Linked DNA regions of Homo sapiens: region 1 is linked to region 2. The links are contacts of gene promoters, found by promoter capture Hi-C in human tissues and cell types (Jung and others, 2019). All regions are on one chromosome and are shown on one strand. Each heading gives the region's core, a stretch centred on a gene start or on the middle of the fragment in contact. The rest is flanking DNA. Distances are from core to core; before and after follow the strand shown. Region 1 has its middle 86 kb from the start of MINDY3. Region 2 holds the start of C1QL3 (complement C1q like 3).

Region 1 (7,162 bases), core at 3,672-6,171, 570 kb before region 2:
ACAACCAGTTCTAGCATTTAATAGTAGAGAGATAATAGTTAATAATAATGTATTATACATTTCAAAGTAGCTGGAAGATAAAGAACTGGAATGTTCCAATACAGAGAAAAGATAAATGTTTGACCTGATTTTATTCCCTAATTATCCTGATTTTATCATTATATATTGTATACATGTATCAATATATCATAGGCACCCCATAAATGTGTATAACTATTATATATCAATAAAATTAATAAAGCAAAAGAGTAAGCTAAAAAGTTGTTGGGATTTGAAGTACTTCAACAAGAATGTAGGAGAATTTAACTAAAACTAAAGTAAATTGTTCTAATTTTCAGTTTGCATTGCATTGAAGAGGAGCGTTGAAGAGGACATTCAGGTGGTAAAATTATTTTATGGCTTTGAACTTTAAAAGTTAAATAAAATAAATAAAACTGAAAATAAGAATTCCTCTGTAGCTCTTCCCCTTTGACCTCCTCAAAACGAGCAGCTCTGAAATATAAGCCATGTAGCAAGAGTCAACATTCTTTTGATAATATTTTTTGGGCAGTGAGAACTTTTTAAGAGGTTGCTTTCTATGTCATTTAAATGAGGGAAGAGCCAGCAAGCACAACTGAAGATTTTAAGCTGCCAAAATTACTCCCTGATTTGTTTCCCATATTCCACATTTATTTTATTAAGTCAATGTAGCCTGTGATTTTTTCCTAACACTATGTAGTTGAATGTACAAGCCCAGCCTTTATTATGTACAGGTGGGAAATTATTTTCTTGGCCTGAGATGGAGCCCTAATTTCATCTCTGCAGAGTAACTGAAGAAATGTGTTGAGTGTTGTTAGATGCCCTAGCTGTAGCAAAACTCCTTGCCAATACCAACACACTTGGCAGACGAACTGACTCTGGAGACCTTGGATGCTTTGACCCAAGCTGAGGCTTCAGCGACAAATCGGGAAGTCGAGGGAACACAGAAGGTATCTAAGGAGCTTCAATCAGTATTTCCAAGAGAAAATACCCTGTTAGTTTTTACTGTTGCATAGCGCATCGTCACAAATTCAGCAGCTTAAAACAACACACATCTATGATCTCAGAGTTTCTGTGGGGCAGGTGTTTGGACACAGTGGAGGTGGGCTCTCTGCTCAGGGTCTCATAAGGTTGCCATCCAGACAGCACTGAAAGGGCTGCATGGCTGGGCAACGCAGAAGACTTGAAAACACTTCCCAGCATGGTGTCGGTGCAGTGAAATGATATTTCTGTGCTGGAGCTGGCTTGGCACAGCACAGCAGCTCCTGGAGTTTTCTGCCTCCAGTCTGACTTGGGAAAGACATGTTGATTCCTGAGGGCACTAAACTGTTACAGGAAGCCAGATCCAGAGGGTTTTGTTAGCGAGATGCAGGAACAACACAGAAGTAACTTGCGTGGATGGAGAGATTTTGTTGGTATCATTTTTTTCCCCCAAGAAAGCCTCATTCATACTTATAGTCCCTGAGATCTTGAATAATTGAAATTGTTTATTTTTAACAGCTTTATTGAGATACAATTCATATACCATACAATTCACACATTTAACATAGATGGTTAATTGGATTTAAGTAATTCAGAATTCTGTAACCATCTCCACAATCAGTTTTAGAGCATTTTCATCACCCCCAAAAGATACAGAACACTCCAAGCTGTCACCCCCTCAATCCCTCCAGCACCCCAGCCCTAGGAAATCACTTATCTACATTTTGTTTCTATAGATTTGCCTATCCCTGATATTTTGTATATATGGAAGCATATAATCTGTGGCTCCTTTCAGCATTACTTAGCATAATGCTTTCAACATTCATACATGCTGTAGCATGAATCAGCATCTTGTTTATATTTATTGTCTAATTATATTCCATTGTCTGGATAGACATTTCATTCATCCATTCATCATTTGATGCGCATTTGAACTGTTGCAATATTTTGATTATAATAATGCTGCCTTGAACATTCATGTACATGTTTCTGTGTGGACATACGTTTTACTTTCCTTGAGTATATTCCTAGGAGTGGCATTGCTGAGTCATATGGAAACTCTATGTAGACAGAGAATCTCTTGAAATACCAGGCTGTTTTCCAAAGAGATTGCACCATCTTTGCATTCCTATCAAGTGTATGAAGGTTCTGACTTTAACGTACTCTGCCCAACAATCATTCTCTCTCTCTCTTTTAATTATAATCATCCTAGTAGATGTGAGGTGGGATCTCACTGTGGGTTTGATTTAAATGTCTCTGACGGCTAATGATGTTGAGCATATTTTCATGAGCTTAGTGGCCATTCGTATATCTTTTTTTTTGGAGAAATGTCTACTCAGATCCTTTGCATGCTTTTTTGTGTTTACCATTTAAATTAGTTTTATTTATTAATACTTCCAATTATTATTCAGTTAAAAACAAGGCACATGAAATACATCCTCTTATTGCTCTATGAATGCATGCAGTTCATTGTGTAGATCATAAAGAATAAATTATGCAAACACCACCTTCTCTTCACTCTGTTGATTGTTTCTTTTGCTGTGTAGAATCCTTTTAGTTTAATTAAGTGCTATTTGTTTATTTCTGGTTTTGTTGCCCATGCTTTTGAGGTCTTGGGCATAAATATCTTTGCCTAGATCAGTGTCTCAAAGAGTCTTCTCTATGTTTTCTTTTAGTAGTTTTATAGTTTCAGGTCTTACAGTTAAGTCTTTAATCCATCTCAAGTTGATTTTTGTATACGGTGGGCAGTAGGGGTCATTCTTCTGCATATGGTTATCCAATTTCCCCAGCACAATTTATTGAATAGTGTGTCCTTCCTCAGTGTATGTTCTTGACAGCTTTGTTGAAGATCAATTGGCTATAAATATGTAGATTTCTTTTTCTATTGTTTTTAAATGTGCATGGCATCTTGGCTTGGTATTAAATTTGTGCATCATGCCTTATTTAAGGATTTTGTACATGTTTCTTTCATATGAAACACGTGTGAAATTTTTCTCTCAATCTTACCTTTTCTGGTATTTTGCAATGTTGAACACAGTTCATTCTTATTTCCCAATGTCTTTCTGGAGGAAAAAGAATTTCTCTTCAGGGCAATACCATTTCTAATAAAAGACTTTTCCAAGCAAGATACATGTGATATTGAAAGTTTATGACTATACAACATTTTCCTCACTTAAAATTATACCGTCTGATAGCTACTCTTCAGAGTTGTGGGTTAGTGTTGTGGCTATTTCCTATTTCTATTGAAGTTAGAATTTTATTTGCTGTTCTTATTATTGTTTGCACGTTGGATTCACAGAGAAGAATGATGTAGAAATGCTTTTAATGCACCATCTTATATTTTGACTAAAAATTATTGAGAAGAAGCTGACAGAGCTTCAACATAACTGTTAAAGTTGAAGAACTGAGTGAATATGTATTGCATATAAACCATATGACAGGTATTGTCCTATAGTTGTCTTAGTTAACCTATCAGAGACTGGTATTAATATCCACATTTTTGGCCAGGCGCGGTGGCTCATGCCTGTAATCCCAGCACTTTGGGAGGCCGAGGTGGGTGGATCACCTGAGGTCAGGAGTTTGAGACCAGTCTGACCAACATGATGAAACCCCGTCTCTTCTAAAACTACAAAAATTAGCCAGCTGTGGTGGCAGGCACCTGTAATCCCAGCTACTCACGAGGCTGAGGCAGGAGAATTGCTTGAACATGGGAGGTGGAGGTTGCAATGAGCTGAGATCTCAACATTGTACACCAGCCTGAGTGACAGAGTGAGACTCCATCTCAAAAAAAAAAAAAAAAAATCCACATTTTTACAGATGAGTAAACTGTGGTGCTGACTGAGAGGAAAAGTGTAGAAAAGAACAGAGAGACTCCTCCTACAAGACCAAAAATTATCTGCATATAGAAATGGGATGGATATTTCTGGAACTGATAGGAGACGGATGATCTGAAAGGAAAGAAAAGATTGGAGGAGCTTAGGCAGAGATCCTGGCGTGGAGAAGCCAGAACTCTATAAAGATGCCTAGGAGAGGAGAGAGTTGGTGCAGACATTTGAGGAGAGGAAGATATGCTCAAAGAGCATTTGGGGAAGAAATTGTACCATGTGTTGTATAGTGTAATTCATGTTTCATTGTCTTCAGTGTTCAGTGAAACATACATTGCTTTTCATGACTTTTTGAATGCATCTGTGTTTCAGATTTGACACTGAGATAAATCTGTCATTGAGTGATCCAATTTTTTTTCTTTTAATTTTTATTTTAGGGTCTAGGTACATGTGATGGTTTGTTTTATGGGTAAACTTGTGTCACAGGGATTTGATGTACAGATTAATTGGTCATCCAGGTACTAAGCATAGTACCGAATGGTTATTTTTTCTAATGCTCTTCTCCCTCTTCTTACCTTCCACCCTCAAGTAGACCCCAGTGTGTGTTTTTCCCGTTTCTGTGTCCAAGTGTTCTCATCATTTAGCTCCCACTTGTAAGTGAGAAGATGTGGTATTTGGTTTTCTGTCCCTGTGTTAGTTTGCTAAGGATAATGGCCTCCAGCTCCATCTATGTCCCTGCAAAGGACATGCTCTCATTCTTTTTTAAGGCTGCATAGTATTCTGTGGTGTATATGTACTACATTTTCTTAATCCAGTCTACTGATGGACATTTAGATTCATGTCTTTGCTATAGTGAATAGTGCTACAATGCACACATAAGCATGCATGTGTCTTTATGACAGAAAAATTTATATACCTTTGGGCATATACCCAATAATGGGATTGCTGGGTTGAATAGTTATTCTGTTTTGAGCTCTGTGAGGAATTGCCACACTGCTTTCCACGCTGGCTGAACTAATGCATGCTCCCACCAGCAGTGTATACATGTTCCCTTTCCTCCGCAGCCTTGCCAACATGTGTTATTTTTTGATTTTTTAAAAATGGCCATTCTGACTGGTGTGAGATGGTATCTTACTGTGGTTTTGACTTGTATTTCTCTAATGACTAATAATGTTGAGTATTATTTCATATGCTTGCTGGCCACATATATGTCTCCTTTTGAAAAGGTCATGTGAGTGGGCCAAATTTTTAAAATCTGGGTTATGGTATCAATGTCTACCTTAAAAAATAATGATTGTTTTTGTATTTCCCAGAGGTTCCGTGATTTCTTTAAGACAGGAGAAAGGCTTTAATATACCTCCCACAATACTTAACTTTTCCTATAGGCACTCTTTGAAATGTAAGCGTTAATATTTACAATAACGTTAAGAAGGGCCAAAAATTGGCCAGGCGCGGTGGCTCACGCCTGTAATCCCAGCACTTTGGGAGGCCGAGGCGGGCGGATCACGAGGTCAGGAGATCGAGACCATCCCGGCTAAAACGGTGAAACCCTGTCTCTACTAAAAATACAAAAAATTAGCCGGGTGTAGTGGCGGGCGCCTGTAGTCCCAGCTACTTGGGAGGCTGAGGCAGGAGAATGGCGTGAACCCGGGAGGCGGAGCTTGCAGTGAGCCGAGATCCCGCCACTGCACTCCAGCCTGGGCGACAGAGCGAGACTCCGTCTCAAAAAAAAAAAAAAAAAAAAAAAAGAAGGGCCAAAAATTTAGTTAGCACAGATTTAAGCTTGCTAATAAATTCAAGAGAAACCCATAATTTAATCTAGTATTGAGTTGTAAAAATAAAAGTTTTAAATTCTCCACATTAAAAAATCATCTTCTAATTAATATTTTAGTGTGCCTTTTAAGTGACTGTTTTTCTGACAAAGTAATACGTTTATTGCAGAAAATCTGGGTAACACAAAAATGTGTAAAAAAGAAAATTAAAATCACCCATAATCTTGTCATCCAGTAAGTATGTTGTGGCCTATTGTTTCACACATGTGTGTGTGTATATGTATATATATATATGTGTATATATATATCTATTTTTCTGTATGTGTGTACATTGTTTTAAAAATCTCTTTTTAATCTCCACATTTCAAGTATACTTCTAGAGCATGATTTTAAATGTTTTCATAGCTATAGTTACTTTTAGATAATTTCAGATAATTCTTTATAATTTCTCGTTCATTTAATCAATTTCTTATTTTATAAATAATAATGAAATGAATATCCTTGAATGTATACATTTCCCTCTAGCTCAATTTATTTCATTAGGATAACTTCTTAGAAGAGTAATCTTTGGGAAAAATGTTAACAATTTTTCAATAACCAAATTTTTATGTGAAGGGTGATAGGTACACATTTTTTAAAAAACCAAAGAGTGCAAAAAATAGAGAAAACCTAAGTTTTTTTCTTTATATCTTCCAAACTCCTGGCCACCTTTCCTAATCCCAAAATCAAACTCCATTACTCCATTTGTGCATGCATAAAATTTGCACCTCCCTCTCTCTTACAAGTCCTTTTACAGAGGTAGATTACGCATGTACTCCGTTCTACAGTTTAATACTTTCCAATGTATCCTGGAGTATACTCATTATCAGCACGTGCAAACATACTGCCTTTAAAGAATAGATCACGGTGTTCTATTATATATACTACAATTCCTTTGACCTGTTTACTTCTATATGAATTCCTTACCATCCTCCCAGTCTTTTGCTATTCTGAAGATACTACAAGGAATGGTCTTCACCGTAGTTTTTGTGAATAGGACCAACTATATATGAATGTTCTTTAGTATAATTTTGGATACAGACACATGCATCTATCCATATCTGCATCCTCACCTCCTCTCTTTGCTTTCATGCTTAGAAACTGTAATAAACATTTGTCATTTCTTAGCTTCTGTGTCCATTTCCACTTCACACAGCATCCCAGCTTTCTTCCGGAAAAGTTTTTCGCCAGGTGCTGTGCAGCCTTAATGTGATAATACATTCAAGTGTCAGCACTCACATAACAGGATCCAAACATGTCCTTGGAGATTCTTCTGTTAGATTCTTCCTCTAACGGACTGAGTTCTGCCATGAGAAAGCATATATATGATCTCCACTTGACTAGTCAGATTCCTGGGACTTTTAAATCTTGAGCTGTGGACACTAGAAACAAAACTCAATGTTTAGAGTTCTTTCAGACTTCTCAAGTGGAGTCTGGGTAGGACTGCCAAACAGTGTCTTCTTGGGAGACCTTTTGTCATGACCTGATCTTGTCTGCCTCTACCTGGTCCTTCGGCCCTTCCTTCCA
Region 2 (7,290 bases), core at 732-3,231:
TATGTGAGTTTCACGGCCTGGGACACCGCAAGGACTCGGCGACGGCGAGCCCCACGGTCGCTCCTCCGCTGTGGCTGAGCCCTGCTTGGACTCATTCCTTCGGGGCCCTTGTTTCTCCCTCCGGCCTTTGTCTACCACCCCCGAGTCGGTCACCCTGCCACGCCCATTCCGGACTCCCCCAGGCCTCTCCACTCCCCAGAAAGCCCGTAAGCTACCCTCTGTTGCGGAGGATCCCACGGCCAGGGGTCGCTTCCCGCGCCGGGACTCCCCAGCGCACGAGCTGTCCCCGGGACCCAGCTCCCGGCTTCCCGCCCCTCGAGGGTCGCGCTCGCAGGGGCGCGCACCGATCGAGGGTCCCAGACTCCGGAACTGCCCTCTCCAGGCCGCGGGGCGCCCTCCTGCGCGCACGACCCCCGCCTCTCCAGGGTGGGACGGCGTCCCCCCTTGCCGTCGCTCCAGGGAGCCCGGCCGCCGCGCCCTTCCTCCGCGGGCTCCCACCCCCATTTCCGGGGTCTCCTCCCTCTCGCCCGCACCTTCCCGCGCTCCCTCCCCGCCCTCCCCGCCGCCCGCCCGCGCTCACCTGGTTGTTTTTGCAGAGATCAGCCCACATGCTGGTGCCGTCCCCTCCGCGCATCAGGACGTGGTAGGTGAAGAAGTAGATGCCCGGGATGGAGCAGGTGAACTTGCCGGTGGTGGGGTCGTAGTGGTTTCCGAGGTTGGTGACCACGTCGTCGAACTTGAGCACCTCGTAGCCTTCATGCTGCCGCTTGAGGCCGGCGTAGAAGGCGATCTTGGGCACCGTGCTGTAGGTGGCGGCGCTGATGGCCCCGGCCGCGTTCAGGCCGGGCGCCCCGGGCGGGCCCGGCAGGCCTTGGCGGCCCGGCTCGCCCTTCTCGCCCGGGGGCCCCATGGGGCCGGGTGGCCCGGGCTCTCCGGGGGGCCCGCGCGGACCCGCCTTCCCGGGCCTGCCGGCCTCGCCTTTGGGGCCCTGGATGAAGGTGGGCAGGGACTGCATGAGGCCGCGGTCGGGCGTGGCAGCGGTGCTGGGCGCCTTGGTGCCCCCGTAGGGGTCGCAGACCATGCGGCAGGTGCCCAGCATCTCGTAGTGCGCCGACGTGCCGGCCGAGCTCACCAGCACCGGGATGAGGATCACCAGCAGCAGCACCATCACCACCCCCAGCGCCCCGGCGGCGATCAGGCGCCTCCTGCTGCCCACCAGCCGGCTCAGCGCGGGGCGATCCTCTTGTCTGCTTTTGGACAGAATTTTGAAGGTTGGGCGGGGACCTCTTCAGAGCCGAAAACAACCCCCTGCGAACCCCAACTCCCCTGGGCGTGCGTGCGCCGGCCGCTGCTGCCGACTCCTGCTCCCCCCGCGGAGGCTGCGGCTGGGGAGGGAGCGCGGGCGCCCAGTGACTTGAGCCGAAGTCCCGAGCCCGGGGTGGGGGCCGGGGGAGGGGTGCGCGGGGCGCCCTCGCCCCCCGCGAGCTCCTTCGCACCTGTGGCTGCAGCCGGCGCCGGCGCGGCCACCGGGAGGGCAGAGCCAGCCGCCGCCTCCTGAGCTCGCCCGGGCAGCTCACACTTTTATGCCGCCGCCGCCTGCGATCGACTTTTCCGTTTTTGCAGACTGCGCCTGTTCGCACCAACTTTCCGTCTGAAGTTGCCTTTTTCTGCCTCCTCCTCCTCTTCTTTCGCTCGCTCAGTTCGCCCGTCCGCTGCCTTTTTTTTTTATTGCCTCCTTTCTCTCTTCCTCCTTTGCCACCACCACAACTCGAATAGACGCGCACCCCAAAGCCCCGCGTGGGCCCGGGCGTCCCCCGGGTGCGCCCAGCGGCGGCGGCGGCGGGCACGGTCGGCACGGCGAGGCTCAGAGCTGGGGCGGAGGAGCGAGCGAGCAGCGGCGAGCGCCTCACGGCCGGGAGCGGAGCGAGAGAGAGACTGAAGGCAGAATTCTGCCTGGGTACCACCTGCCAGGAGAAGAGGAGGCTGACAAACGCGCGCCGGAGCAATTTATAGGCACCCAAGGCACAGAGGAAGGGGAGCCGCTTTGGCATCTCATTGCAGCATCTGCTCTGCTCATCCCACTCAGAGAGAGTTTGGCATTACTCTGACAATGTGGGATTTTTTTTTTTTTTTCGGCCTCTCTTTTTTTCTCTCTCTGCACATGGATGAACAGTGAGATTCTGAATACTCCCTTGCTGAACCAAGCGATGGCAGGTCCTGCTGGACCCACCTGGGGAAGGGAGACAGCTGTGCGACAGCTTTCAGAGCTCAAGGGTCACACCTAAATCCCCGATTTCCCCACTGCCAGCAGCCCCAGTTGGAGGGTGGAGGTGAAGGTTGAAAGGAGGGTGGCTGAGTTGACAGTTTCTTTGCTAGCTCCTCTACAATCAGTGCTTCAGGTGTTTTCAAAATGCCACTGTTAACAGAAGGAGGGCCTTTTAGAATTTTCCAGATGGTAGATGTGATTTTCTTTTAACCTGATGGTTTTCCTCCTCTGCCTTGTAAATGAATAAGATGTTGCCCCAAGAACAGTGAGGTATGTTGAAAAGCCAAAGAACATTTGTGAATGATTTTAAATGAACATGTCCACCGCCTCTGGGGGAGGAGGGGGTTGGTCCTTTTTACAAATGCTGCACCGTGGTGAGTGCATACATACGTACTGTGCTTACAGTCTTACAGTTCTAGCAGTCTTTCGGGGGATACCGCCAATGGCCCTGAAGTTGCGTTTACTTAAAGTCGCTAAATGTACAAGAAATAACCACTTGTCAAAATGGCGTCAAAAGATCAAGCAAGAAGCTTTTGCACAAGTGCTGGGCAAGGTCTTTTCCTAGCATATGGAAAGAGTTCTATAAGCTCCATAGCAGATTTCCCGAATATACATTGAGGGAGGGGAGAAGTAGGAGAAATACAAGAAAGAAGAGCCCCCATTCTCAGTGGGTGAGCTGCAGAAGGAACAGCATGGTTTATCATATTACTGGAAGGCCTCCAGGGTAGATATCAGGCAAGTTACCCCACCAACAAATACATAAGACACACAAGAATGGCTTTAAATAAATAAGTAGAATTGAATCCTAAATCATACTTTTGCATTCAGGAGCAACAGATGTCAATCAAACGTGGGTGACATTTGCTTGTCAATACGAGGATGATGGCTGGGAAGACGGTGACTTATTACATCAGGGTGAGAATCTGAAATGAGAAAAGCAGGAACAAATAAGACTACAGCAAGCAAACAGTAACATCCTGGGTGACGATCAGCAGCCTGTGATCTTGTCTGCGGGTGTCACAGCATGGACTTCTCCTTTCCTCCCTGTGCCTCAATCTCCCCGCCCCCCAGCCTACTCCAGTCCACCCCACCAATTTAGTTCTTTCTTTCTTTCTTTCTTCTCTGTTTCAAAACAAAATAAGGTCAAACGAGCAGACAGAAGGAAACAAAGACTGAATGATTCTTTTAAGAGAAATGTCAGTAGCTCCTTCAGGCCTTGGCTGGGAGAATCAACCCTAAAAGCTGTGCTGTGTGGCTCAGCGGGGTGGGGGTCTCCACCTCCTGGCTACTGAGAGAGCCACACTGCTCCTGGTATTGGAAAATAGGGCTTCCCACTTCTCAAGCCCTTAACTTTTATTTTAGGGTAGTGGTTTTATAAATGCGCGCCTATTGCTTGGGCATAATTATACACATAGTTCCATAATATTTTTGTTCACATGAGCTGCCTTATTTTCATATTTTTAAGGAGCAAACACATAATAAGTTGTCTCCTGGCCATAATACTTACTTTCCTAACACACCTTCTGGATTGCTTCTTAAAAGTCACCTTCCTTTTGGAGGACAAAATGGTGAGGTTTGCTGCCAGCACTGGGGGGGTAGGATATTAATAAAACTCTGATGCACCAGATTATCAAATTTCATAAGGCCTCTCTATTGCTATGAAGAGTTCTGTAGGTGACACAAAAGGAGTTTTTAAAAGGTAGAGATGTATAGAGAAGTTCTCATCAAAACCTCAAGCTATGTGGAGTTTTCCCATTGACTAACGCTTAAGATATATTGGAGTCAAATGCTCATAAAATGCTCATCAATGCTTATAAAATATTAAGAGTTGAAATGGACTCTCTGTTCATGCAGATGATGAGACCGAAACAGAGAGCTTCCAGGAGGATCAATGCCATTCAATGAGCTTGCTGCTGTACTCCCCTCTACACAATATGGATATATCCCATCCCAGCCCGAGACTGGCCATACTAGTTCTAGTAACTGAGGCTTTCCTCCTACTTTCTCTGACGCCAAAGCAAATTTGATTTTGCAAGTGAGTGCCCTCACATTTTAAAGCTCTGCTGAGATTTAGAAAGGCACTCAGCAGTCATCATTCATCATGAAGTCACTCCCTCCCAGGCCACGTGGCTGACCCCAGACTTTCTATTAACTGCACAAGCCTGGGCAACACATGGATATTTGGCTCTGTAGTGAAGCAAATTTAAATTCTTGGTCTCCTTCCTCTCCTCCAGAAGTATCTCACTGTGCACTTTGGGGGAACCTTTTGGTTCCCCCACAATTTTCAAGGATGACTTGGTAGTAAACGAACTTATGGCTGGTTACTGAGACTTTCTACTGCTTGAATTTCCCAGAAGGTTCTCTGCAAAGTTACTCACGCTTCAGCTCTTGTTCTGACAGTTTGGATAAACCATCTGATATGGCATATTACTCATCATCTTCATATATATAATAATAGAAAACGTGTCAATTAAAAAAATATTTGATTTTCTTCAGTCCTCATTAGAGAACCAAGTTTTCTCTCATATTCGATAAGAATCTTGGAAGTGGGCCCTGGACTCTCATTTCTGCAGCATCTCCCAACCATCTCTCAAGAAAACACCAGGCTCCCTACTCCCATTGCACCTGTACCTGGACCTTGTGGACCCTCCAGAAGATGAAGTCCAATCCAGAAAGCCGTGATCATGGTTGGATCACAATCCTGTGATTTTCTTCTTCCCCACACCATTTCTGTTGCTTTCAGAGAGCTGAGCAGATCCTAAGCACACGACTCCCACACAGACATGCACGGCCATCCATTAATCAGTATTGAGTATCTACGGACAGCACAGCCCTACGCTGGGCTCTCACCAGGCAGACAAATATTTAGTCATGAAAATGATTTCCAAATCCAGCAGCACTTAAGCAGAAATAGCATTTCTTAGAACAGGAAAAAATAATAATAAATTAACAAACCCAAGGACTGTCTAGAGAATCAGACATAAAAAATACAAAAAAAAATTGGGACTAGATCTGCTATTTATCTTTAATTTTGCGGTCTCCAAATTTCATTTCAGAACATATACTCCTTTGACTGAAGAACTGTACATTTCTAACCAGAAAGAGTCTGCCTGGAGTTATGTAGGGAAGCCGTATATTCTTATGGCTTTGGAATCAGATGGGTCTTAATTTGAATACTAGCTTCCTCATTTAGGAGCTGTGAAAGTTTCTTAATCTCCCAGAGGCTCAATTTCCATTTCTGTAAAGTGGAAATAACACTAATACCTAAATTATAGGGTTGTTGTGAAGAGTAAGTGAGTTAATGCATATAATTACAATGGTACCCAATTTATAATAAGAGCCTAATAACTGCCAACTATCAACTTAGTATATTGTAGGACTAATGAGTAGTGTATGCCTATGAATTGAATGGAAGAATGCAAGGCTTAGTAAAGGAAGCTGAAACCAAAGGGCCTGACTTAAGACAAATGGCATAAAATGAACGGTAAGTATGTTAGACTTAGATAAAACTGAGGGGAACACCAAAATTCTCCAGGAGAGTTGCCAAGGTGTACTCTCCTGTAATATCAAGCAAAACAAAACTCAAAACTCAAAACAAGGATCACATGACTCTTCTCCAAAGTAAGAAGACAAAGTTTTATATCAAGGTCATTTGAATTCATTGTGCTTTGATAGCCCAAGTTTTCAGATGTAAGACCTAGTAGGATGTATTAACACATGCTTTTTGTCCTCTAGGAATTCCGCAAGTCAACAAGTTGCAAATGTACTTAAAAATTATTGAGGTCGATATTCAGGAACTGTTTCTGTGGATAACAATTCTCAAAAAAGCAAACATGCCAGAGAGGGCTGCTTTGTTTTGTTGTTTGTTTGTTGTTTTGGGAGTTGGTTTTTTTTTGTTTTTTTTTTTTTTTTTGAGACAGGGTCCCACTCCATCACTCAGGATGGAGTGCAGTAGCATGATCTCGGCTCACTGCAACCTCTGCCTCCCAGGTTCAAGGGATTCTCATGCCTCAGTCTCCTAAATAGCTGGGATTACAGGCATGCACCCCATACCAGCTAATTTTTGTATATATATATAAATTTTTTTTTAAGTAGAGACAGGGTTTCACAATGTTGCCCAGTCTGGTCTCGAACTCCTGGCCTCAAATTATCCAACTGCCTTGGCCTCCCTAAGTGTTGGGATTACAAGAGTGAGCCACTGAGCCCGGCCCCACTTTGTACATGAACCAGAAGAGCAGTCACTCTGAAAGACACCTAAGTCATAGCCACATCTCTAGGGAATTTTCAACACGAAACTCTCTATAGAAGGCAAGTTGGAAAGCTAGCTTGGCAGGTGTATTGTCAAAAATTATTGAACCGCTAAATGGAGATGGTTACCAGCACATTACAGAAGACTCAATGTACAACGTATGGCTTCATGTTGGTCCAAAATTCTAACTATATCAGTCAAGAAAAGGATGAAATCTCAAGTATGGATGTGACACTTTATACCTGCCATACATAGAATGTTCAATCCGTATGACCTTACTTGATGTAGAATTAAAGGAAAAGTTACCAAGAATGAGATCTGAGAGCTTAGCAAGTCCTCCTAAGCTATAGCCATGATAACTCATCATACAAGGAAAATAAGTGAATTCAAAGAACCAAAAGCAGCTGCCATTAGATTACAGGGAACTTTCAAACAAAAGATATATCATAGGAAGTCAGGTGAGAAGCTGTCAACTGGGCAGGCAGTGATGAGAATCGTAGTTGTCTTACTGTACTTTTTTGTTTTGTTCAAAAAACCTAAAGCATCACGCATTTTGAAAGCAGAGTTTGCAGAGAGCCCCCAACAGAGCCAGAACTTGCCAAGAGCGACTGATATTTCTAGAATCTGGCTCTTAAAATAATAAGGCTGGAGGAGACATGAACACCATGGGAAAGTGTATTCAGCCCCACTCCTATGTGAATGTAGCTTCAGAGCAAGTTACCTTCAACGAGGAGCAGCACATCCTGTAAACAGATACCGTGTCTCTTGGGTACTT

Evidence for each region. The method cuts DNA at HindIII sites, captures the fragments that hold promoters and counts their contacts. A contact is called where the count stands out against the background at its distance.
Region 1: a fragment that was not itself captured here is called in contact with the fragment with the promoter of C1QL3 in region 2 in 2 of the 25 tissues and cell types used here (aorta and mesendoderm cells).

What each region holds. Positions count from the first base shown.
Region 1 is chr10:15,942,911-15,950,072 of GRCh38, forward strand. No RefSeq gene overlaps it. Among named protein-coding and RNA genes, the nearest start is that of MINDY3, 86 kb to the left of the region's middle. The HindIII fragment of the contact is 5,608 bases long and covers 2,118-7,162 here.
Region 2 is chr10:16,519,898-16,527,187 of GRCh38, forward strand. It overlaps C1QL3 (complement C1q like 3), which reads right to left and starts at 1,982. Exons shown (of 2, transcript NM_001010908.2): 1 at 581-1,982. The coding sequence starts at 1,168. RefSeq lists enhancers at 1-32, 33-533 and silencers at 833-892, 1,203-1,422, 1,693-1,922. The HindIII fragment of the contact is 8,174 bases long and covers 1-5,700 here.